Regions from separate parts of the Homo sapiens genome. Here regions 1, 3, 4 and 5 are each linked to region 2. The links are contacts of gene promoters, found by promoter capture Hi-C in blood cells and fetal thymus (Javierre and others, 2016). All regions are on one chromosome and are shown on one strand. The core of a region is centred on a gene start or on the middle of the fragment in contact, and the rest is flanking DNA. Distances in the headings are between cores, read along the strand shown. Region 1 overlaps ABCB4 (ATP binding cassette subfamily B member 4). Region 2 holds the start of DMTF1 (cyclin D binding myb like transcription factor 1). Region 3 overlaps ELAPOR2 (endosome-lysosome associated apoptosis and autophagy regulator family member 2). Region 4 overlaps RUNDC3B (RUN domain containing 3B). Region 5 overlaps ABCB4 (ATP binding cassette subfamily B member 4).

The links. The method cuts DNA at HindIII sites, captures the fragments that hold promoters and counts their contacts. A CHiCAGO score of 5 or more calls a contact.
Region 1: a fragment that was not itself captured here is called in contact with the fragment with the promoter of DMTF1 in region 2 in 2 of 17 cell types (total B cells and non-activated CD4 T cells); the score reaches 5.9 in total B cells.
Region 3: a contact is called between a fragment that was not itself captured here and the fragment with the promoter of DMTF1 in region 2, in 2 of 17 cell types (non-activated CD4 T cells and total CD4 T cells). The highest score is 6.7, in non-activated CD4 T cells.
Region 4: a fragment that was not itself captured here is called in contact with the fragment with the promoter of DMTF1 in region 2 in 2 of 17 cell types (total B cells and fetal thymus); the score reaches 5.5 in total B cells.
Region 5: a contact is called between a fragment that was not itself captured here and the fragment with the promoter of DMTF1 in region 2, in 1 of 17 cell types (total B cells). The highest score is 5.3, in total B cells.

The regions. Positions count from the first base shown.
Region 1 is chr7:87,415,621-87,420,871 of GRCh38, forward strand. It overlaps ABCB4 (ATP binding cassette subfamily B member 4), which reads right to left. Exons shown (of 28, transcript NM_000443.4): 19 at 4,378-4,455; 20 at 2,917-3,000; 21 at 1,692-1,895. Among named protein-coding and RNA genes, the nearest start is that of ABCB4, 57 kb to the right of the region's middle. The HindIII fragment of the contact is 885 bases long and covers 3,435-4,319 here.
Region 2 is chr7:87,149,296-87,154,067 of GRCh38, forward strand. It overlaps DMTF1 (cyclin D binding myb like transcription factor 1), which reads left to right and starts at 3,158. Exons shown (of 18, transcript NM_001142327.2): 1 at 3,158-3,260. DMTF1-AS1 (DMTF1 antisense RNA 1) reads right to left here and starts at 3,198. Exons shown (of 2, transcript NR_136253.1): 1 at 3,007-3,198; 2 at 2,128-2,363. RefSeq lists enhancers at 2,228-2,791, 2,707-2,946, 2,792-3,353. The HindIII fragment of the contact is 3,514 bases long and covers 940-4,453 here.
Region 3 is chr7:86,892,444-86,897,276 of GRCh38, forward strand. ELAPOR2 (endosome-lysosome associated apoptosis and autophagy regulator family member 2) reads right to left here. Exons shown (of 22, transcript NM_001142749.3): 20 at 479-657. Among named protein-coding and RNA genes, the nearest start is that of GRM3-AS1, 91 kb to the left of the region's middle. The HindIII fragment of the contact is 1,675 bases long and covers 1,057-2,731 here.
Region 4 is chr7:87,630,300-87,634,914 of GRCh38, forward strand. The region is part of intron 1 of RUNDC3B (RUN domain containing 3B); the gene reads left to right. It also overlaps a transcript of ABCB1 not described here. Among named protein-coding and RNA genes, the nearest start is that of RUNDC3B, 4.2 kb to the left of the region's middle. The HindIII fragment of the contact is 420 bases long and covers 2,419-2,838 here.
Region 5 is chr7:87,441,156-87,446,241 of GRCh38, forward strand. It overlaps ABCB4 (ATP binding cassette subfamily B member 4), which reads right to left. Exons shown (of 28, transcript NM_000443.4): 10 at 3,707-3,820; 11 at 2,508-2,618; 12 at 2,164-2,289. Among named protein-coding and RNA genes, the nearest start is that of ABCB4, 32 kb to the right of the region's middle. The HindIII fragment of the contact is 2,752 bases long and covers 2,143-4,894 here.

The DNA of each region.
Region 1 (5,251 bases), core at 2,627-5,126, 270 kb after region 2:
GGCAGTATCTGGTACAATTTCTCATTTTACTAAGGTAGGACATGAGGACTAGAGAAGTTGGGGATCTTCTCCAGCCTCACACACTGTGAATAGCAAGACCAAAGCTAATAACCCAAGATTTTGTTTTGTTTCAATACTGCTCAATTCTACCTGCTCTACTCTGACAAAATTCTAACAATTAATGGAGCTAAGACTATTAACTAGATTCAAGATGTTTTCTATCATGTAACTTGTCTAAGAAAAGTTTATTTTCATTCCATCCAACTGACCATTCTCCCATATGAAATGTGGAAAGAAGCAGGATTGAGGGGCAGGGGAGGAAACAGAGCTACACAGTGTTTCTTCAGCAGTTAGTTGAGACACTCAGAAGTCAAGGAAATGATGCCCTAAAGTACCCACAGCCAGCAGCCAAGAGAATCTTCAAGAACTCTAGACACCCAGGGGTTCCCAAGTCCTGGGAACCACATATTGTCCTAGCAAGCTCCAAGTCTTGGAGAGGATGCAGCGTGAAAATGAGGAGAGTGAATTCTGATGGAAACCTGGAGATACTATTATACCTAACGCTGCATGCAGCGGCAGCTGATGCTGATTACAAGAGGACAAGAAAGGATTTCACCAGACATAATTGGTTTAGTGGAAACATGGTTAGTCCGAATGTTAATCTTCCCTCTTAATATGGTGCCTCTGAAGCTAGTCACTCACCCAGTCTCTGACGCCTTCTTCCCTATAGAGATACTGTCTGTTCCACTTCTCATAACTAGTTAAGGTCAGTTGCAGTAATGCTTGTAAAAGGGCTTTGTAAAGTGCAATGCTATAAAACCTATATCACAATTTATATTTATTATCTGCTTCACTTCCTCATGTTTCAATAAAGGATAATAATTACATAAATAAGACTAAGAATGTTCATGGTTATAATCTACATGTGAACATTTCAGTGCATGTACTTGTAAATAAAATGTTTATGTGTAGATTTAGACACTTAAACACATATAAAGAGACCATATAGTAGAGGTAAGAGCTTTGAAACTAGACCTGAACTTAAATCCCAGCCAAATCTCTAACTTCTGTTTGAATCTCAGGTTCTGTATTTCTGAAATTGGGATAACAATAGTGCCTGCCTTATAGGATTATTGTGAAGATGTAATAAATTGGTGCATATAAATATGTAGCACAATAACTGGCACGTAGTAAGGCTCAAGTAAATGTTAAGCCCAATTGCCATTATAGTGAGAACCACAAAATTGAGGCATTACTGCCATCTGGTGGCTGCCATCTTAATTATAGAAATCACAGCCAAAAAGAAGAGGATCTCTTAAATGCCAGCACATGTCCGACCCTGAACAATTCACTTACAGTCTTCTGCATGAAGGTTTGTGAAACAGGGATGACATTTGTCCAAACAGTAGCATTTGGACATGAAGTAAAATGAAATGCACTTTGAATATTCAGAAGTTCTTTATCATAACTATGTTAAGTGCTTTCTATAGGCTCAACGTTTTATGTTAATCACCTTATATTTAAGTTCTAGACATTAATACAGTAAAATATTTCATACACAATTGACAATTATTAGTTGTAGTGGGCACAAACATTTAATTATTAAAGCCTGCATATCATGATAAATAATTCAAATAAAACACATGTCTAAAAACAACACTTAACACCAATTGAAATCTTATTTGACCTACCTTTCCAGCAGCTTCCAGTTCTTTTTTATCTCTTTTGGCATTTCCAGCCAACAATTTCATTTCAACAATTCCTGACACAGCAATAATTGGAACAACTGCTAATAGCAATAGGGTTAACTGCCAACCGTAGATAAATGATATGATAATACCAGTTCCAAGGTTAGCTATATTCTGTGCAATTAAAGCCAACCTGGTTCCTGTGGCCTGGGAGAGAAAAAGCACAAAGCAACTGTAGTTTTAAGCTCCAAATGCATGCGCTCCAGCCTTAGCCTCTTGGTCAGAATGATGAGTGGGTTCTATGCCTGAGCTACATTGGCTTACTTTCATTACAATAAACCCACAACACCTGTGCTTAACTCATGAGGCTCTGCAGACATTTCTTCATTGTGCCTTTACACTCTCATTCCTCTCCTGCCCACCTGAACCAACATTCTAGAACCAAGTAATCAACTTCTCTGCTTTGTGGATGGGCACTGGGGGTGCATGTATTTTTTCATAGATGCAATGTTCAAAGAGGAAACTAACTCCAATGTACCTGGGTAATTTTAAAGACCATTTAATTCAAAAGTGTAAAAGGGAAAGAGACCATCTGTTGTTACAAAGGGTACGTGTCCTAAGAGACATCCACCACAAAGCACATATAAGGATGAATTAGTGTTGTACCACTCAGAAAACAAAGGTGGCTGTAGCAACATTGCAGTCAGCTCTCTGCATCCATTCCTCCTTCTCCTGTTGTGTGGAAGCAGTGAGCTGCAAAGTAACCCACCTCAGCTAAAGGGGTGGGGGACGTAGGCCACTCAGAACACCACCATCCCCTGGAGACAGTGGTTCAGGGTGGGGCATGTGACCCAAATTAGCCCAAATTAGATTTCAGCAAAGGGTTTTTGTTTGGTGGTTGAGGTAGAGGTGTGTGCTCTCTTTCACTGGATGGGAAATAAGGAAGCCTGTAGTTCTAATTACTATTAGCAGCCATCCTGTGACTGCAGGGAATCAGCCTTGGGATAAAGCCAAAGCCAATGAGGGAACCTGGATTCTGGATTAAATCTGGAGGGGGCAGTGGGTCAATCAACCTTGAAGTTTAATCTTCTGCTTATTGTTTACAGCAGTTTTGATTTGAGCTTTCTGCTATTTCTAGCTGGAAGCATCTTAACAAGTGTGGGTATGCTACATGCTTATCTAAAACCATGTTATGTAAAAAACTACAAGTAGAGTGCAGTCTACCTACTCCTTGGACTTGGGCAGCATCTGTGGCAAGTCTTGTAGAAAGTGCACCAGTACTGTTTTTATGGTCATCAAACCAGCTCATGTCCTATGGCATAAAATACACGTTTATGTTAGTTCAAAATTAAAACAAGCAAAGAAAACCAGACAAAGCCTCCCAAAGCTCCAATGCTGAGGAAATTTAGGGGAGACCTCATATGCAGTGTAGAGTCCCTGGCCTTGCTCTGAGCACACACCCCCAGAATCTAGCAGAACCCAGCTTCCTGACTGCTCTGTGGTAGCAGGGAGGGCATCTCTGGTCTAGGGGGGCAGGGCTCACCCAGATGGCTGCCATGCTCCTTGCCAGCTCCTCCCAAGGCTGGGAGGCTGGTAGGCATTCCATTCACCCAATCATCAGGTCTTTCACTATGGACACTTCTGCCCTGATATGGTGTTGTCTCTCATAAAGGGTGGTGGAGCTGTCTTGGACATGTTGTTCTGATAGATTCTAGGCAGGAGAAAATAAGCACTGGTTTCTCACCAAGCTTTTGTTTGATTTTTTGTTAAACACTGATTGAAAGTGTGTCTGATCTCCAGTTAGCCACAGGGATAAAAAAAGAAGCATGTCTGAGACTTAATTTTAATTGTAAGCTACTCATCCATGGCATCTTTTACCTTCACATAAAATAATTTTTCCTGCATAGCAAGAGTTTAGGAGATACTGAAATAGGATTTGTAGACAGATTTAATCAGAATATACTACCTACTATGTGCCCATTTGTGAACAGAAATGTAATCAGTTCCTGTCAATTGAATGGATAATATTCTGGCCCTCTCTTAGGCATTTTCTATAAAAATAGATAATTCATGTTTGCATATTTTCCTATGTCAGGCACTAGAATGTGAACTTACGAGGAGAGCAAATAATGGATTATACAGTACCAGCCACCAGCACAGTGTCTGGTACATGATAAGTAATGTTTGAATAAACAAACAAGTGAATTAATGTGAAAATAGACCTCAAATAAGAAATAAACAAAACTCAATTATTAACATTTGAGGATACCTACAGTTAGTATGGTAGATTGTGGTACATGAGATTAAATGCTATCAACTAGGTTTTTCTTGGTTTAAAGACATCCTGGAGTCTCAATGGACTCACCAGGGCCTGCACAGGATCCAGAAAAGAGATACAGGTCTTCGAAATGATAGTGTCTACATGGAGAGAGATATTTACAGAATAAGCCAAAGCTACCCAAATAAAGCCTATTTCTATGAAAAAAAACAAAAACAAAAAAAAAACAAAAAAAACATGAGAAGTCTTTAGCTCTTGAAGGACCAGGACAATTTGCAGGACTCTGCCCCATCCTTGCGTGAATACCCTGGGGGGAAAACATGCATATCGACATAACAATAAGAACAGTAAGAAGCTTAATATGGAAGAAATGTGAAAGATCAGAAGGCATTCTCCAGCGCACACTCCTACCTGTCTTAGCATTGCTTTAAAAGCCATTGACCGCAGTCTTCTGGTGAGGATCTCGCCAGCTTTCCCAAACGTGAAACCCTGGTTGAGAAAAAAGGCTATGGTCTCTTTTGATCTTTATGTATGTAATTGCACCAGACCAATCATGTTCAACTTTTATGTAGCAAAGTTATGAGTTGTTTTACAGTTGCCACGGATCCTCAAGTCATGTTAATAACCTGAGCAGCCCCAGATGAATCAAGCATGCAACCATAGCAGGAACCTAAGTGCTCCGAAACAAGAATCAGGGACTGAATTAAGAAGCAGACACCACATGGCAGGATGCAGGATTCAATCAGATTGAGCTCTGACACCACCCCATGGCAGGATCCAGTCAGATGGTGCTTCCCGGCATCACTTCATTGCAAGATCCAATCAGATCACACTTCATTACCATACGCTTATAAAACCTGACCCAGCCTCCAGCTTGGGGAGATACTGCTTTGGGAACTAAGCTCTGTGAGCTTCTCACTTGTGACAAGTTATAAAATTCCTTTGCTAAATCCTCCTTGATGTGGTCATTGGGTTGAAACCCACCAAGTGACCAAACCTGCCCGTTGTGTGGGTAACAGTTGCTAGTATTCTGACACAGGTGCCTATATTCACATTGATTTTACATTATTTGTATGTTAACTATTTAAATAACAAAAGTCCAGGACCAAATACGAATTCAAAGCCCCCACGTCAAATTCATGTACTGCAAAATCATCAGTATGCATTACAATCAAAGGCCAAAAATCTTAAAGGTGTCCAGTTCTGGCTTCTAAACCATTCTAAATAGGTTTATTTTTCAAAACTTTGAAGGACAACATCTCAGTGACAAAGATACTGTGTTTAA
Region 2 (4,772 bases), core at 1,908-4,407:
AGATGTCATGTTGTGTTCTTACCACAATAAAGTTTTTTGAGAAATTCAGCTAACATTTGCAAGGGACAGCCTATCACCTGGCAGTGCTCTGCTTTCACCATTTTATAAACATTTTACAAGCCAGTTGCTTTCTGCAAATATGCTTTCATGCACTAGCTTGACAAATGCTTTCCCACCTTGCACCCCCTACTATGCTTCTTTATTCTTACCTTTCTGCTTAAGTATCTTCTCAGAAAGGCCTACTCTGAACTCTCTATGTAAAAGTTCACTTTCAGAGCACCCAAGTTGTATCTTTCTCAGAACTTACAAAACATGGCAATTATTGCTTAGTTAACTAATACATTGTCCCTCTCTCTTCCATGCTAGATTATAAAGGAACAGGTCTTTGAGTCTGGGTCTGGATATTATCCTGTTTTAGTGAAGTATCTGAACTGTTTTGTTTTGCACACCAAAATTACAAAGACAGAACAAAAATTTTTATCCTTATTGGCTAGGAGTATTGGACGCCTTAGCTCTCCATTCCCTTGATAAGGAAACACTTTTCTGGCTAATATTCTATCAATAGGTCTCAACAAAGATTTACCACAAAAGAAGAAAAAAGTGAAGTGGATATAGAGAGGTTGTCACCAGGCTGAGGTATTAAAAGGATTGCAGAGATGAGACACATAGGCAAAATGCAAGGCGGGAAAAGGATTGTAAGATGGAGTGTCATAAGGCCCAGAGGGAAGCCTACAGGAAGAATCTGAGACAGGAGACCACCTGGTAAAGCCTGGTGTGTGGGCATAACTGGGACAGTTTATTCATTCCTCCATTAGCACAGCAATCTCCATCAGCTGGAAGGCCCTACAGTGTATACCCATCAGCTATATTAACAGGACTCAGAGCCTGTGTAGAAAGAAAATTACTCAGTAATTGTAATTTTCTTTTACTTTGAACAAAAGCTTATAAACATCTTTTTTTTTTCTGAATTAGCAAAAGATGATCATGAAACAACAGAACCTGCTTCTCAGTATTTGAAATACTTTATATTAATATATCAACCTGTCATAAAAGGCAATTTCATCATCAATCACTGATGAGGTTCACAAAAGTGTTATAGACACCTGGAGTCCAACAAAGTCAATTTTAACTAGCAAATGCAGTAAATACCATAGCTAAGCTATAAATACTTTAATAATTATTGTTTAGGATAGAAATACTTCTAATGATTTTTCTACAAAACATTTAATTCCTAAATAGGTAAATCCTTGGATAATATTTAAAACCTCATCCATTCCCTAGGTACACATTGACTAAATAATGAGGTACGGATAACATAGAAGTATAACTGCAGAAAATTGCTCTAGGAATCAAGTTGTGTTATGGATAGTCTTTACATTGATTATTCAAGCTAAAGGGATAGAGACGTTATTATATTTTTTTAAATTATGCATTAAGCTAATATTAAAATACATTTGTCATCCCCAAATAAATACCAATTGACTTGGGAAAAGGTAGTTATAAAAGAAACTCAACCAGAAAGGGAGAATTTAGTTATGAGGATGCACTTGACTTTTTGCGGGGAGTTAGCAGCGTGCAGGCTGACCTAAAATTTAGCAGAGGAGAATGGATAGCCCGACTATAATTTATATATCACTATTTTGTGCCTTAGCAAAAATAATCCTATATGGTTATGTCTTATGAAAAATATGGCTCATTAGGAACCACCTTATCAATGTTAATGTCAACAATTTTGCATATGTAATTATTATTTTATTAGAACTGCTCTTTGAGTAGTTGTATTGCTTTCCTGGCTTTAAGGTTTATTAGTTACCATTTTTAATGCTTAATACACGTCAGATTCCATGCAAACTACGCTGTCTACAATATTCTGGAAGGTACATCTTATTACTCCTAAAGTAAACAAAGCTAAAAGAGGTGAAGTGCCATATCCACTACTAAGAAATGGAGCCAAGATTCACACTCAGGTCTGACTGCCTGAGTCCATACCACGATACTATTCTGCCTCATAGTTTTGCTTACATAAACATTATTATGTACTTATTAAAAAATGGAATGATACACGGCTTAACTCCAACAGAATGCAGAGTGCCACAAATTAGTAATAAAGTTATCAACACAAGAAAATGCTGCTTCTGAGATTTATTTTTGAAAATTAGTCAAACATGTCGATCCTCCAGTAAAGCAAAGCATTTGTAAACTGGTTGTAATCATTTGTTTTCGTTATGAAAGTACTGCCAAAGTGTATTTTGTGAACTGCAACCGGGTAGTTCAGAACACAGGCTTTGGAGCTGAGGCTTCAATTCTAATTCCACCGCCAACTTGGGAGCCCTTGGACACATTCCTTCACTTCTCTTTGGTTCCTGTGTAAAATGGGATTCATTTGTAATAATTGTAGCGATGCACTTAGAACTTATGAACATTAAATGAGTTTAATATACGTAAAACATTTACCTGTCACATACGCACTCAAAGAATGCTGGCTCACATTACAGAACCCAAAGGCTTATTTATCCTTTTCGTTTATAAGGGTATTAAAACGCGTTTTCTATTTAGGATGGGTTTATACGGCTGCAACCCAAGGAGCATCTGTACTTTTAAGAGGAACTGGGCACAGCAAAACAGCATCTTCCTAGTCTAACAGTGAGACTACATTCACAGAGGACACATTTCATCAAGAACGACTTAACACGCCCAGATATCTCATATTATGCCCCTGCGGTAAGGCAAATCAAGTATGAAGACACACACTCCCTGTTTTCTTCAGCACTGAGATCACTGGTTCCCTCCGTTCCACACCGCGGCTCCCTCGGCTCGGAGCCACAGGGAACTATGAAAATCGGCACGCGAGGCCTAAGTGTCCCCAGAACCAGAGGAACCACAGTTGCGTCATAGCAGAAGGACCTCTTTTACAGCATCAGCAGTGGGATAGTCAGTGCCGAGTTTTCCTGGCAGGACAGCCGACAACCACCGCCACAGACCAGTACAAACATTCCAACCCAGGACCTTTTTTCGCGCGCCGACACAGCCGGAAGTGACGCGTACAGCCAGCACGCTGGGCCGCCAGCGGGACAGACGAGCGGGAGGGGCAGCGTGCGGGGAGCTGGGGGCGGGGCGCGGCCGCAGCTCCGTTTCCGGTGGCTCGTCGCGCTCGCTCACTCCAGCTGCAGCCACTCTCGCCCGTGGCTGCTTCCTCCATCCTGGTATTTTTTGGAGCTTCCATCCTGGTTCTTCCAAAGTGCCCGGACCCAAAACAGGAAGTAAGTGCGATGGAACCTTCAGGTTCCAACCGCCGCCAGGGCCGCTCCGCCCAGTGGAGCCTGTCCGGCCCCCTTGCTGCCCGCTAGCTCCCGCCGGCTGGCGCAAGCTGTCGGCGCCGGGGCACTGCGGGCGGGGTCGGAGCCTGGCCTTCCTGACGTTGCAGCTGCCGTCCCCGCACGTTCCGGCCAGGGCCTCCCTCTTAGGGCCGGGCGGTGCCCGTGGCTCAGGCTGCAGAGTAGGGAAGCGAGCGGCTGCCGAGGCACAGCGGCGATCCGGCGGGGGCGGAAAATGGCGGCGGCTTCGGAGGAGCTAAATGGCGCCGGGACCCCTGGGGGGTGGGGTGGGCCGGGAGGTTGAGTAGAGAACTGGGCCAGAAGGAGTGGAGACAGTAAGGAAGCCCTACTTGTTTTCTCGTGGTGTTCTATTTTTAGTTTTTATTTTTGTTACGTTTTCGGTTTTGTTTTATGGTCCAGCGTAGGAGAGGTAGGCTTGGGTGGGGTCGAGAGAGTGGGGGTGGGTCTCGACCCAACTTCCCCCCCTTTGCTTTTTTGTTCTTTTCCCTCGTTTGCGCTTTAGATTCTTCTGTAATTTTGCGGGGGTTCAGCCTTGCTCGGCGATTCACGGCCCAGACATAGAGAATCGGGATAGCTGGCCGAACCGTCTCTCTCAGTCTGACTCTCTTTAAAGAAGGGATGTGGGCTGGGGCGCGGGGACAGTCCTGGTGGAGCACGGAAAATGCGGCTGTAAAGTTGTAATTACCCTATTGTGCCGAGTTCCGAGAAAGTTCTTAAAATTGTTAAGTCCACTTTGTTCTCTAAAATGTACTTCGCTTTGAGAATTTCTTCAGGGAGGTATGTAGAATGTTTTACCACAATCTCCAGAGCAGATTTGAGAGTAGAAGTGGCCAAGTGCCCTTTTGTGCAATTGAATGATAGAGCATATGTCTTTATATAAAATACTCGGTGTAGATAAGGAAAAGGATAATAGTATACAGTATGAGTCAGGACTCCTCCCTTTCTCTCATTGAATTTGTGTAGTTGCTTTTTTCGCAACTCATTCATCTTTGTGTACCTCTTTTTAATGTACATGGATTTGATTATGTGTGCCTCCTTTCTGACAGTCGAGGCTGCATGTTGGGACGTCCTACAAAATGCATATTCTGTGGAATTATTTTTTAATATGACATGTCTTAAGCTTAAAGTGACGCCATTTGGAAAATTTTAAATTATACCTGTATTTTTAATTCGTGGGAGAAAACCATTTGTAGCTTTTAAGCTCCAAATACGAAAATATTCTTCCACTATGTTGAAAGTATTGCAAAATCTGTTTTTTTCAGTTAAGGGTTTTCATGTTTTTTCATTACTTCAAATTTCTTTAAGCTGGTTTTGAAATTATATTTCAAATAGCTTTCTGAGGATTACTGTCTTTTAATAACTTGAATAATTTGCCATCACTTTAACATTTAAAGAATGACTATGGCGATACACCAAAATCTTATCTTTTTGCTCTTA
Region 3 (4,833 bases), core at 644-3,143, 260 kb before region 2:
GCTCAATATTCAATTCCAGATACTTGAAGACCTGGAGTAAATAAATGTGATATTTGCCTATACACTAGGTCTGGTTTTTTTTGCAAATGTCTTCCCACAAGAAATTTTAAAAGAAAAGGTGAAGGAAGAAGACAGCATTATATCATTTTTAAAAAAGGCAGACACTGAGAGAATACCTGCCTTCCAAATCTCAGCTCTGCTATCATCTACCTGAATAACATGGAGCCTCTTGTTTTCCTTGTTTTCTAATAAATGACTCTAACTCAATGATCTCTAATGTTCTATGATCTTTCTACTGTCAGAATAACAATCGTTTCCTCTGCTTGCTTTCTCAAGGCCTTTCCTATGATTTCTTCGCAAGGAGAAAATTCTTGTGTCTCTGAGAGAATCTATTTATTGGATATAATGATCAAGTCTAGAATTTTCACAACAAAATAGGCCCTCTAGCTCTCTTGTGATCATCTCAGAGGGTACTTACTTTTGATTCTTTTTCCAGAAGTAGCAGGTCAGAGCCACCAGCAAAACGGCAGTAAAAGCTCCCACACCGGCTCCCACCTTCAGCCAAAAGTCAACCGTTTCACAGGTTGCCAACTTTTTCTCAGGCAAAGAAATTCCTTTAATGCACCATTTAGGTTCATTCCACACATACAAGGTTTCCTTTAAAAAAAAAAACATAAAACCATAGAAGACATGAGAAATGAAATTCAGACTCAACTGTGAAAGCTAGATTTGTCACTGGTCAATTTCTTACATAAAAGAAGAAAGGGTTTTGCTAACCCTTTACTTACAGTAGGCATAGAGGATTATTCAGCATTCATTTAATAAAAGCTCCAGAAACACAGGAAAAAAATATATGTGAATGAATAAGGAATTAATGAATGAAAAATGTAAAAACCAAATAAAGACATGGATTGATGGATTGCCACCTGAGAAGGATGCAGTACAGTACATGCCAAGGAGGTTGAATAAAAATGGCTCCATCTGGACATACCTTCTGGGCTATTTTTTTTTTTAATTTTGATGCCTTTAAACATCTTACTCATGTTTTTGAATGAAAGCTTAGGTTGCTTAATCTAAGAAATGGGTTGCATTCACCCATCATGTAAGCCCATTTTCCCAATAAGCCTGTCCTCCGAATGGAAGAACAGACCCTAGACCTGGGACATACAGGTGCACCACGGCTGGGTAACTGGTGTAAGTGGGCACACAGTCTACACCCTTCTTCCCCATGCCAAAATAAGGAGGGCATTATTCTGGGTCATCACTACCCACACCAGTTACTTTCATCCTCCCGAAATAGATGGCAATTCCTTTAGGGCAATGTTTTTCAAACTGCAAGTTACAACTAATTGTGAATAATAAAATATTAATATACTGGGTCTCAACCAGGAATTTTTTAAAATAGACAGATCAAATAGGCAGATCAAAACAGAAAATCCAAGTACAGCATATGGTTCGTTATATATTTCAACATGTACGGTGACCAGTAGCAATTTGCATGGTGATTCTATCCACCAACATTAATAATATAGGCACTAATCTTTTAACGTGTCTCATTAAACTTTCTGGTATATGATGGTCATTTTATCAACACTCTAACAGAGGAATAACACCATAATGTTAATTTTTATGATTTAAATACACAAACAATTTTGCAGTTAGTCATGAAGTGAAAGGGACATGAGACTCTTACTCACTTTGGGGAAAAGTTTGAATCAAGTTTTGGATAGGAAATTTCAGCATGTTTTTTAGAAAGGATATTAGTGACTGGATTTTTTTGTTAGTACATTATAACTGAAACGTGTTTCCTAAACTTAGTGCAAATCAATTTCTTTTTAAGTGGGTCACATTATTTTTTATAAAAATGGTAATGTGGGAAATGCTGAGGCATGTTCAAATTCATCTGCTGCATCTCTAAGTGTCAATAATGACAATACAGAGAGAAACAAATTCGTCAGCAAATGTTGACTTTATTTCAAGTGCATTCTAACAAGAAAAAAAGACTGTACCATCTTTGATATGGTTTTATCAAATGTGCAATGCCCAATGAGAACAGCAAGCTCTACTGTCTGATGACAGTCTTATAACAAAATCTTAAAACTTCAAAATTAAAAAAAAATACTTGCAAACCAAGAATGCTTAACTTTTCAATAAGTGTCTCAAATACCGACATGGAAAAAAATCAAGCTATTGGCAACTTTTCTTAGTAATTCTATAACTATTAATTAGAAAGTCTTATTCATTCAACCACACATCATTGGAAAACAAAAAATGGCTGACACTGCAGCTGAAAAATTTATTCTTCTAGTGTGTAGAAATATCTTGTGAGCAGGGTAAGATAAATTTAAAGATAAATTTTAAGACAGTCCCCTTAGTGATAACACAGTATCTCTTCAAATCTTTAGTGCTGCATGACATATAGAAGTAATGCTTAATACACACTTAGAACCCAGTATAGATTTTGGAGATCCAATTTGATAAGAGCACTTCTATCACAAGTTGTGCGGCTCTTTTTGTTTATATCAGCTGTATGTGGAGGACTTGTATAAATTTAACATACGCGCCTGTATTAGATATATTTAAAGAATTAGAAAAGTGCACGCTCAATCAACATAAAGTAAAAAATTGTAAAGATGGTGTCGGAAATAGGACTGAAACACAACGGGATGGTTAAAAAATGTAAATATACCCATTGCAATATTTTGCAATAACTATTTTTCTTCTATCACGAAGCTTTGGTATCCAAAGAAATCCACATATATTCACTGACAATAAAAAATGCAGCAATATTTGTCATTTGTATATGAAGCTCACGGAGGAGTTGACTTTTTAAAATATTTTATTCAGTGATCGAGGTGGCTATTCCCACTTACTGTATCATACCAATTTTTTATAGTTGCAATGGAATACATTAAGTAAGGTCTATGAACTCAGGAATGACATTCATAGTTTTGTAACTGAAGCTCAAGCTCCTTGGACAAATATTTCCAAAACTGGTATCTAAGCATAACAGAAGGATATATTTAACTACTTCCAGTATTTCTCAAATTAAATTTGTAACTATAGGGGTATGTTATAAATTTCAACATGTCAAGCACATCAAAGTGATCCAAAAAGTATCATTTTAAAGGCAAAAACAAATACTAAAGAATCACACAGCAACTATCTATTCTCAACAATCTTATAATACGTTGAAGTGACCTTACCAAGGAAGAGAGTTTGAATGAAATAAAATTAGAGAATTTGTTGCAAATTTACTGTCTTAACCTTCTCATCATTCATTACCTTCCAGGAGAGAAATATTAAAGAATGTTTGGATAAAAGATCATTCAGCTATTCAAAAACCCTTGAATTAAACTTGGTAGCCAAAGGGAGTGCAGCTTCGTTTTTCATTTACTCTAAAAAACAATTATAAGATAAGCAGTTTATCAAAATTGTAGAGTAAAGGTAAAGAAGAATTTCTATTGTGAAGTAGAAAAAGCATTATCATTATTAAGAGGATTAACAAGAAACTATTTTTGTGAATCTGGAATTTTTATCCTTGACCTACTTAAAAATATTAAAAAGAAACTGTCTCAGCAGTGTGCTAGCTGAGTGAGCGGCACTGACCCTGTGTGCTCTGAACTGAAATAAGCCATCTACGAGGATACACATTTGACAAATTAAATAACACATTTCCTAATTTTTGTTTTTGTGTTGTCTGCTTATTTTTTGTATAATGCTTTAAATTATTAATAAAAATATACTTTACATTAACTCTATGCTTGTACTTTATCATAAAATATAAAATAAATCTTGCTCCTTAAAACTTTATCTCACTTTTAGGCATATTTCTGTGTGTCTAATTTGTGTGTGTGTGTGCTGGGTTTGATGTACAATATAATTCTTAATATAGTTTCACTGCCGTTAAAGTTTGAAAAACACCAACTTAGAGAATAGTTCTCTACGGTTTTTTCCTAGGGGTGAGGTGAACACAACTGCTGCCAAATACTTGGAATGCATGGGATTGGGCGCAAGCATCCTGATTTCATTCCTCTCAAGCTCCTGCCCTTCATCCTGCTAACTGCAAGCTCTTCAAGACCTTCCTGGGCAGAACTGCTTCCCCTCTCTGATTCTCTGGTGCCCACTCTCCCTTCAGGTTTCCAGGATTAGTGTTGATTTATTTTCCTCTGTGCTTCTTTATTATGATTTTAATGGAATTTGGGCATGGAGTGATAGTAAACAAGTGGTCTTGAAGCAGATTAAGTTTGTTTTTTTCATATGATACTACTCAAAGCTAGTTCAGTGAAGCAGGCTCTCTCAAACACTATTGGTGAAAGTGAAAATGAAGTGAAAGTGAAAATTGATATGATCAAAGTAATTTGGTAATATGTATCAAGCCTTAAAAATATCCATTATTTTTGGATTCAATTAATCTCTTTCTAATAATAAACTAACAAAATCAAACTTCCTTCAGACGTTTGCTACAGAGTTATGTACAAAAAGATTGTATTCAATTTTCTCTCAAATGTCTAACAAAGGAATTATTTAATACCAAATTATATAAAAAATAAAATATCTATCAATAAATATGTTTTTAAAAATATATTTAATGAGAAGGGAAAGTTTTCATAATGTATTAAATATAAAATGGAAACAAAAAATACTTAAGTATGAATGCACAGAAGCTATAGAGTAGGATCTTGATTTTATATGTATATGCTTTACTTTTTAGGCATGCTTCTTATAGTGAGTCAGTTATATTATCCCCATCTTAATTACACCTATACCTACATTATGTAAATCACATCTTGGTTTAATGATGTTATTCCCATATAATCCAGGTAAATACTA
Region 4 (4,615 bases), core at 1,379-3,878, 480 kb after region 2:
AATTATTACAAATGTTTATCTAGCAAGAAGACCTTCTTCATTGACTGTATTTGTATAATGTAATTATTACAGCACTTTGAGTTGTAAATGGTAAAGTAATATGGTATCCGTTTAATTTGCCGTTTGTGCTGTCTAGGATGTAACTTTTTGAGACAAATAGGCTGTTAGGTGTTTTAAAATATAGGTAAATATCTTTAAAGTAGGTAAATGGAACCATAAGCAAGGCTGATTTTCTTAACCATAATATACAGACATCAAAAATTGCTTTAAAAATAAGGGTAGTTTCAACATATACAGTGCTTCTTGGGGGGTAACATATTTAATAAAAGCTCTATCAGCTTTTGTTAAACTTCACAAGGGCAGTGATTCTATCTGCTTTTTGCTTAGTCTTTTTTTTTTTTTCTTTCAAATTCTCAGTATAGCATCTAACACTCAAAAAATATTTATTGAATGAATAATTTCAGTGATGGGTACTGTTCCTTTTGCTTCTCCATTTTTGTCTTGGCTGGCTTTAGGTCATGTAATGATCATGTGTGCCCTTATCAGAGACAGTTGAAAAGAAAAGGATTTGTATTTCAACCTTATTTAAACTAAATTTTAAATTATCTTTAAGAAATTTTAGGAACGTCACACTGATTTCTGGGGACAGCTCTCTGTATTAGTTGTATTTTCATGATTGTAATTTACATAATTATTATTTTCTACTGTGAAATGAATATGTGCTAACTTTAGTTACAGTTTACACATAGATTTAGTGTAATAGCTAAAATAAGTTGTGGTTTCTGCTCTGGATTTCATTTGTATTGTTATTTATATGGATAATATTAAGGCTGTTTTTCAGATCCAAATAGTTGATGGTGCATGTAAATTATCCATGTGTAGTAATGGGGTCTATATGATAGGCTTTGTCTGAATGACTTTTACTTTTTGGAAGAAAGTCACTATAGGCCATTTGTACATTTTAAGTATCCCCATGACAAATTAAGAAAAATGAATAAAGCAGTATTTATGCATTTATTGCTAGTTTACTTTCCAGAGTCACCAAACCCTGGGTATTTCACTCATGTCTCTTATGAATTCTTTTTTTAATTTTTTATTTATTTATTTTTGAGACGGAGTCTCGCTCTGTCTCCCAGGCTGGAGAGCAGTGGCGCGATCTCGGCTCACTGCAAGCTCCGCCTCCCGGGTTCACGCCATTCTCCTGCCTCAGCCTCCTGAGTAGCTGGGACTACAGGCGCCCGCCACCACGCCCGGCTAATTTTTTGTGTTTTGTTTAGTAGAGACGGGGTTTCACCGTATTAGCCAGGATGGTCTCGATCTGCTGACCTCGTGATCCGCCCGCCTCGGCCTCCCAAAGTGCTGGGATTACAGGCGTGAGCCACCTTGCGCCCGGCCTCTTTATTTTTATATCTCAAATCAGAGATGATTTGATATTTAAGTTGGAAAGAAGTTGATCTGGTGGAAATATAACTGGGTTCTAGGTTGACTTTATCATTAACTAGTGTGCACTTTTACAAGCCATGCAACCTTTCCATTTGTTCATTTTTGTTGTCTGTAAAATAATATTGGACTAGATCATTGTTAACCTTCAATTATAGGCTTAAAATTAATAATAGCCTCCAAGCAAAAAATGTTTATATTTAGTTTTGAATTTTTCCAAATATGAGCAGGGTAATAATGATAAGATAAATGTTTATAATAGCTAAATTACGTATGTGCATTTTTCTCTATAAACAAAAATATTTTGGACTGTGCCTTTGATTTTGTAATTCTCTGCTGATGTTCTGGAAAAAATTGAACCATTTACAAAACCAAAAAAAAAAAAAGTCACCAGCATATATCATTCTAGTGTATCCACTTATACTTTCACAGTAATGTTTTTCCTTACCCCTTAAACAATTTAGGTGTATTCTCAGTTTAGGTTTAAAGTCTTCTTATGTGAGTACACAATTCTTTATGTTTAAAGCTTTATTCAAGTGCAATATATAGTTTTGAGCTTTGAAAGTGGGTTGTTTAGATAGGTAAGATAATCAGATAAAGAGCTGAATTGAATTTTGGCTCATGTGTGATTGTATATGTGTATGTAATTCATTAGTTTTTTTTAGTGAACATTTACATGTTGTAGACTAAAAACATTTGCATAGTCCTTATTTCATCAGATAAGTACTGTTTTTTCATATTTTTCACAGATTTTGGTGAAGAGATAGTAGGTCATTTGAGGACTCTAAATCTTACACACTCAACTTCAAAATATTCATACACTTGACTTTGGCTCTGAGAACCAACTAGTATTTTCCCTGTATATTCTCTATCGTTTAGAACTTCAGAAAATTAAGTTGTTAACGCCCTTCAGATTTTTTTAACTTGCATTTTTATCCATAGATAATCAGATATTAGTCATTTTTTCTGTCCTTTATAAGCTTCATTGTTTACAGAAAACCTTATATAGTCCTTTGATTTTGGTTTTGGTGGCAGAGTATTAAAATCTAAATTCTCTTTCTATGGCTTAACAATGTCTTATGAGCAAATTATTAAAATATGCACATATAAACATTTCAGAATAACACTTGTCAAACTTTTAAGTCAATACTTTTAAGAGAAACTTCCCATGCAAAGTCATAATTTTCCTGTTTTGTAGCTAGGAGGGACTAATAAGAGGAATATAAGGAGTAGTGTGATAAGCACGGTGGAGACAAGTGATGATTTCACAATTCAAGTGTTTTTAATAACATATGAATAGTCTTAGTTTTCTATAGGTCATGATATTATTTCAGAACTTGAATATTATTTCAAATTACATTAGCACCTCAGTTTTTCCATTATAGTCAAGGAATGAGAAGCTTATATTTTTATACATAACTAATATTTGAGTTAAGCTTAAAATCCTTCATCAACTGTAGTGCTTTACTCAGCATTTATTTTGGAGCGCAGGATTTGTATAACTGAAATTTATTTAAGCGCACAAGTTTAATCCACAACACATAATATTTACAATATTTTGGATGGATTGCTTTAAAAAATGATTACACGTTTCCCTACCTTCTTGACAAAGACTATACATAGAATAATGTAATCCTTATTGATGACTTTACTCTGAATCTGCCTCTATGAATATGCCCACTGTGCAGTGGTTGCCCTTGGAGACTCTTGCAGCATGTAGAGCTTTTGCCTAAGTGGCCCCAGAAGATTATGTGTTTGGAGTTCTTTGAGCTTTTGCATCCTTCTGTTTCTTCCTACCAAGTTATTTGTTATTTCTTACAACTCTTTTTATTTCTAGCAGTTCTTTTCTTTGTACTTCCCATTCTGACTTGCAGATTATAATTGGTTGTGACCTGGGAAAGTATATAACTAAACTTATCAGGTGTTTAATTTTTTTTTTTTTAAAAAGCACCCAGAGGCCTGAGTTAAGTTTAGTGAGCTTTAGAACTCTGAACTTCTTAACATTCTGGTGCTAACTAATCAGAAAAACTGTCTAGTCTATGCTTGAACTTGGTGGGAGAAATGCAGATATGTGAAATGTTATTGAATATTAATGACAGTATAATCTGTCTTATCCTGTTTTGTGTTGCTATAAAGGAATACCTGAGGTGGGGTAGTTTATAAAGAAAAGAGGTTTATTTAGCTAACAGTTCTGTAGGTTGTACAAAAACCGTGGCCCCGGCATCTGCTGAGCTTCTGGTGAGGGCTTTTGTGCTTCATCAAAACATGGTGGAGAGAGTCAAAGGGGAAGCAGGCAGGTGTGAAGAGAGACCAAACCCAAAGGGCATTCTGGTTTTTTATCAACCTACTCTTCTAGGAACTGATCCATTCTTCCTTGAGACCAATCCAGCCTTGCTAGAGTGAGAACTGGCTCACTAGTGGGTGATAAGTACCAAGCCATTCATGAAGTATCCACCCCCATGATTAGCCAAATACTTCCTGCTAGGCCCCACCTCCCAACACCATCACATTGGAGATCAAATTTCAACATGTCATTTGATGGGGGCAGACCAACCATATACAGATTGCAGCATAATCCTTTAAAGAACTTTAAATTTGTTGGCTGGGTGTGGTGGCTCATGCCTGTAATCCTAGGACTTTGGGAGGCTGAGGCAGATGGATCACCTGAGGTCAAGAGTTCGAGACCAGCCTGGCCAACATGGTGAAACCCCGTCTCTACTAAAAATACAAACAGTCAGGCGTGGTGGTGGGGGGTGGGGGGGGGGGCACCTGTAATTCCAGCGGGAGGCTGAGACAGGAGAATCACTTGAACCCTGGGGCGGAGGTTGCAGTGAGCCGAGATTCACTACTTCACCCCAGCCTGGGAGAAAGAGTGAGACTCTTGTCTCAAAAAAAAAAGAAAAAAAAAAGAACTTTAAATCCAGTGATTTACTTTTTTTGTTACTATTTGGTTGAATATGCTTGAGTATGCCTCATAAGACTGTTCATACCTTGGCTATAGTGATTATAATATTTTTGGCTAAAACTCTTTCAGTCATTTTATATGTAGTAGAACTTTGAGTTTGAGTTTGGATTCAACATTAGTTATATACCTTGGAAGCAGGTTCAGTATTATTAAATATTTCTAAGGATTCTTCATGCTCTAATTAGTAGATGCGCACAATGGAGGTAGGAT
Region 5 (5,086 bases), core at 2,269-4,768, 290 kb after region 2:
ATTTATTTTTTCTCCCTTGACAACAATTGCTTACATGTACAATGACTGGATTTGCTGGGCATTTGTTGCTTGTTAATAAAAGGCTAAATAATTATCTTAAAACATTTTAATAACTTACATTGTCAACAGGAATATATAAATATATCTGTTTCATTGTAATTTACTAGCACTGGGTTTTATCATTTTAATCTGTTTTCTTCCAATTAATAGGTATGAGGTGATAGCTTATATCTGTTTTCATTTGTATACATTTATAAAGTTGACCATTTCTTGAAACTTTTTACAAATCTTTATATATTCCAGAGAGTCGCATGTTCATAATGAGCAGGGTTACCTTCATATATTCATATTAACTTCTCTAATAATAAATATAATACTTTTTCCATATATAATAAATCTTTTGTTCCAATTCATTATTTTTGTCCTTTTTTTTTTTTAAATTTAGAGACAGAGTTTCATTCTGTCACTCAGGCTTTGGAGGAGCATAGTGGTGCAACCATTGGTGCAACAATAGCTCACTGCAGCCTTGAACTCCTGGGCTCAAGTGATCCTCCTGCCTCAGCCTCCCAAGTAGCTAGGACTATGGGTGCACACCACCAGGCCTGGCTATTTTAAAAAATATTTTGTAGAGACAGATTCTCATTAGTTGCCCAGGATGATCTCAAACTCCTGGCCTCAAGTGAACCTCCCACCTCAATCTCCCAAAGTGCTGAGATCACAAGCATTAGCCACCATGTCAGGCCTTTATTGCTTTCTTTCATCATAGTTTTATTGGTTTTTATTGGAAAGAGGCTTAAGGAACAACTGAATTAATCAATTATGCCACTGGGCATTTTTTTCTATTATTTCAGTGGTAAGAAAATTGTTAAATCATGATGTTAACAGTGAATATCTCTGAGTTATAGAATTTCTGAAGATCTTTTTTTTCTGTTAACATATGCTTTCTTTAAAAATGTCAGTTGTTTCAATAATAATTTAATTCTCAATGGTTGGTATTTTACCAGGTTCTTTTTAAAAAATAAAGAAAATATTTACACTTGAACCAACCCAGAGTTTACTTTAGTAAATGAGAATGGGCCTATGTTCCCCCATAGTAATATCAGATTTTTCCAATAATATTAATTTTATTAAATTAAATAAATAGTTCCATGTATTGTAGAAAATTATGTATTAATTCTGGAGATCTCTGTTCTGTCCCAATGCCTTTTTATGATTTTTGGTTTTGGCATGCCATTATTTTTACTTTTTACCTTATAATCTTCTGTTTTCACAATTATTGAATTATAATCCATTTTAATATCAGATAAACTCAATGCTCTAAAATTGGGACAACTGAGGAAATTCTGAATATAGCTCGTGGACTTGTATATTGCATTAATGTTAAATTTACTGATTTTTAATCATTGTTTTGTGGTAATCTAAGAGAATGTCCTTTTTAGGAATGTATTCTGAAGTATAAGGGTATACATAATACACACACACACACATAAACACACACATACACACACACACGGAGAAAGAGAAGATGATAAAGCAAGTGGGTCAAAATATAAACAATCTAAATCTGGGTGAAGGATCTGTGAGTTCTCTAGTTACAATTTTCTGTAAATTCAAATTTATAGCAAAACTTTTAAATGGCAAAAAAACATACCCTAGGCTATTACTGTCTCTGTGTTTCTAGAATTTTCTCAAGAGACTAGTTTCTTAAGAGACCATCCCACTTTCCCCCTTAGATATTCCTAAGTTTAAGAAAACTCAACTGTCTTGGATGAATTTAATTGCTGTCCTAAAATATCTGGTGACCCTAATTGTCATCAATTGTTCCCAACAATTGCTATATGGAGTATGTTTGACCAAACTCTAACTCATTGAAAGTAATCCTCTCAGTGGTTTGTAGACTGCTTTGCAGTAATTTAATGTGTTATGAAAGCTTAGTCAGAACAGAGGAGAGCTTTGTCCAGCTTCCACAGCTTTTATGACTTTTATTTAATGCATTTGTGAAACCAGCCCAAGGGTGTGAAGGCATTATCCATCGGCATTGCCATTTTGTAGGCTTTTTACCAAAACTGGATTCACACGCAAATTTGTTACTGAAAAACCAATTTCAAAGGGCCAATTTGTATCCAGCTTCCCACTCTGGAAAGCTTGGTTCTTCCCACTTACTGTGCCCTCATCAGGGTCATAGAGCCTCTGTATCAGCTGGACCGTTGTGCTCTTCCCACAGCCACTACTTCCAACCAGGGCCACCGTCTGCCCACTCTGCACCTTCAGGTTGAGGCCCTTCAAGATCTGTAAGGAAAATGAGAAAAAAGAACACACTTCACAACAAAGCCCTAAAATGGGAATAATTCGATTCAGTTTGAAATTTGAAAAAAAAGTATCAAATAAGGGAATATAACCCCCAAAGGAAAAGGCACATAAGTATCAAAATAATAGAGACTTTATTCTTTAAAATGATTCAACAATCAACCTCAGTTAGGAATTCCTATAAATATTACTTACAGTACCTTGACGTTAGCTCGAGAAGGGTAAGAAAAGTGAACATCATTGAACTCCAAATTCCCTTTGATGCTGTCTGGTTTGTGTCCTCTCTCTGAAAAACTGTCAATTTTAGGATTCTAAATAAAACAAAATGTAATGACTATTCCATCATAGCACAAACAAGTTGCATTTTTAAGGAATATGATTCAGCAAATTCCAAAAATAGGACCTGGAATGTCACAATCCCCTTTACATAAGAAAAACCCAAGATGAAGATTGTGTGTATATGTATGTGTGCTGTTTAAAGAAATACTCCTTTTCAGAAAATAGTGTTTTCCTGAAAAGTACGTAAGAGATATTCATCTCATTTCATATAATATTTCCCTTTAAGTTTTTGGCATATCCTCATAAATTTTCTAAATGGTCAGATATGCATATTTATACAAGTGCAATAACAAAAATATGCTATAATTGATATATATTATAGCCAAGTATTTCAGCATTTAGTGAAAATTAGCTCATTCCTAAATAATAAATGTAATAGATTGAATTGAGAAGATTGAATGGTTGATTATAGCAGTTATTTAGAAATAATGTAAACTTTTAATACAATCAGAAACTGAGCACTTTTCTCACGACTTGGATCAATGAAAAAGGAAATTGCTTAGATTAAATGATCAAATTTCACTTAGCTACCTTGCAATATTTGAATGCAGTGACTTACTTTTTTACGTCAAAACTTTTTCTTTTTCACTGTAGTCAGTTTATTTAATGTAGTTTATTTAAAATCATACCAAACATGCAGTGATAATTTTTTGGAGAGGGGGAACCCACAGCAAAATATACTGTCAATTTTGGTCCCACCGATAATTTATCTACCCCCCATCCCATATAGAAATCATAAGATTCTCAGTCTGGCTACAACATGAAAGTGAAAAAGATAAAAACTAGGAAGAGAAACGTCTTTGCTCTGCACTAGTGCAGATGTCCTTTTCCAAAATGAGATCAGTATTATTATATTATCTAAAGATACATTTAAAAAATATTAATAAGAGGTATTTTCTTTCATTTATTACTAACAGGTCATTCATTTCATATAATTAAATGTCACTTTAGTCAGTACAACTTATTCAATGTAGTTGATTCAAAAATATGCAAACTAAAGCCAGATTTAATTATACAAGCTCAAAGACTTCTTTTGGCACTAAAATAATAAATGACTTACATTATCAATAATATCAAAGATCACATATGCTGCTCCTCTTGCATTGGCAAAAGCATCAATACATGGGGCAGCCTGGCCAACACTGAAAGCTCCAATTAGGATTGAAAAAAAAACCTGAGCAAAATAACATGAGGAAAAGTTTAAGTCACATTCTGGCATTCATTATTATCTAAAATGTGATGTATATGTAACATAGTACATAAAGGATTAAGTTTAGGTTTATCCTTTCCTTTTTTTTTTGTGGAAGAGCAACATTTGCAAGGCTAATATAGCATTTTATTGCCTGAGTGGGTCTATTTTCTCAAACTACCTATTGTTCTCCTGAATACATACAGAGTTAAAAAGATTTTTCAAACCTATTTCATTGACTCACTCACAAATGCCACCAGAAAGAAACATTTTCAGTCAGTATTATTATTCCATCCTATATGATTTTCTCTAACTATGCATGGAATTACATAGACGGTTCAATATAAAACATGGCAGATTTTGGCCCTATGTAATGCTCCTAAAAAGCACCATGTCACATATATTTTTAAAGATTTTTAACATAAAAAGTAACAGTTTGCACATCATAAAACATAAAATCACTCCAGTGTGCACTGGTTAGCAATTCCTTTACACAGTTATTCTGTACTGTAGCATACAACACTTAACACATTTCCCTTCACAGTATTTTTTCACTAGGAAAATGAATTGATATAAAGAAGCTCAGAATACAGCTTCAGGAATCCAGATTATTAGCATAACTTAACTGAGAAAAACATAAGTGAAGATAAATTATTTTTTTCTCTCAGGGCATGGTAAAACTTCTACATATAATTTGGCTTTTCTCAAAACACAGCAACACTTCATGTTACCCATAACTCAAATATCAGTTAAATATCTATCCCCCATCTGCAATACAGATAAGGACCAGTAAGAAAGAAAAATAATGTTGACCAAAATAGTTGCCATAAGGTTAATGCAATAGAGTCCCTGCCCTCTATGCAGAGGGCTTTGCTTGGGCTCCCTCTGGGGATAGCAATCTCAGCCCTACCGGATAGGTGTCATTATCCACATACTACAAATGAGGAAATTAAGGCCATAGAGGACAAACTCATCACCAAAGGTGAACGGTTGTCAGGATTCAACCTCCCTTCTTCATAAAACATCAATAGTAAATGAGGAAGTGAAGAAAGGGTAGCAAGCTTCCAAACCGACTGCCAGAGAGAAGATGGAAGTGAGAAAAATTAGACTCAGCATTAATGAGGGCTCACCAAGTCGAACACCCACAACCTCTCAATGAAGTCTGAAGATACCACTGCATAAAGCATTCTGAAAATATTCACTTTCATAATGACCCCAAGTCATCATCAAAGGGCCAAATTATGCTCAGTA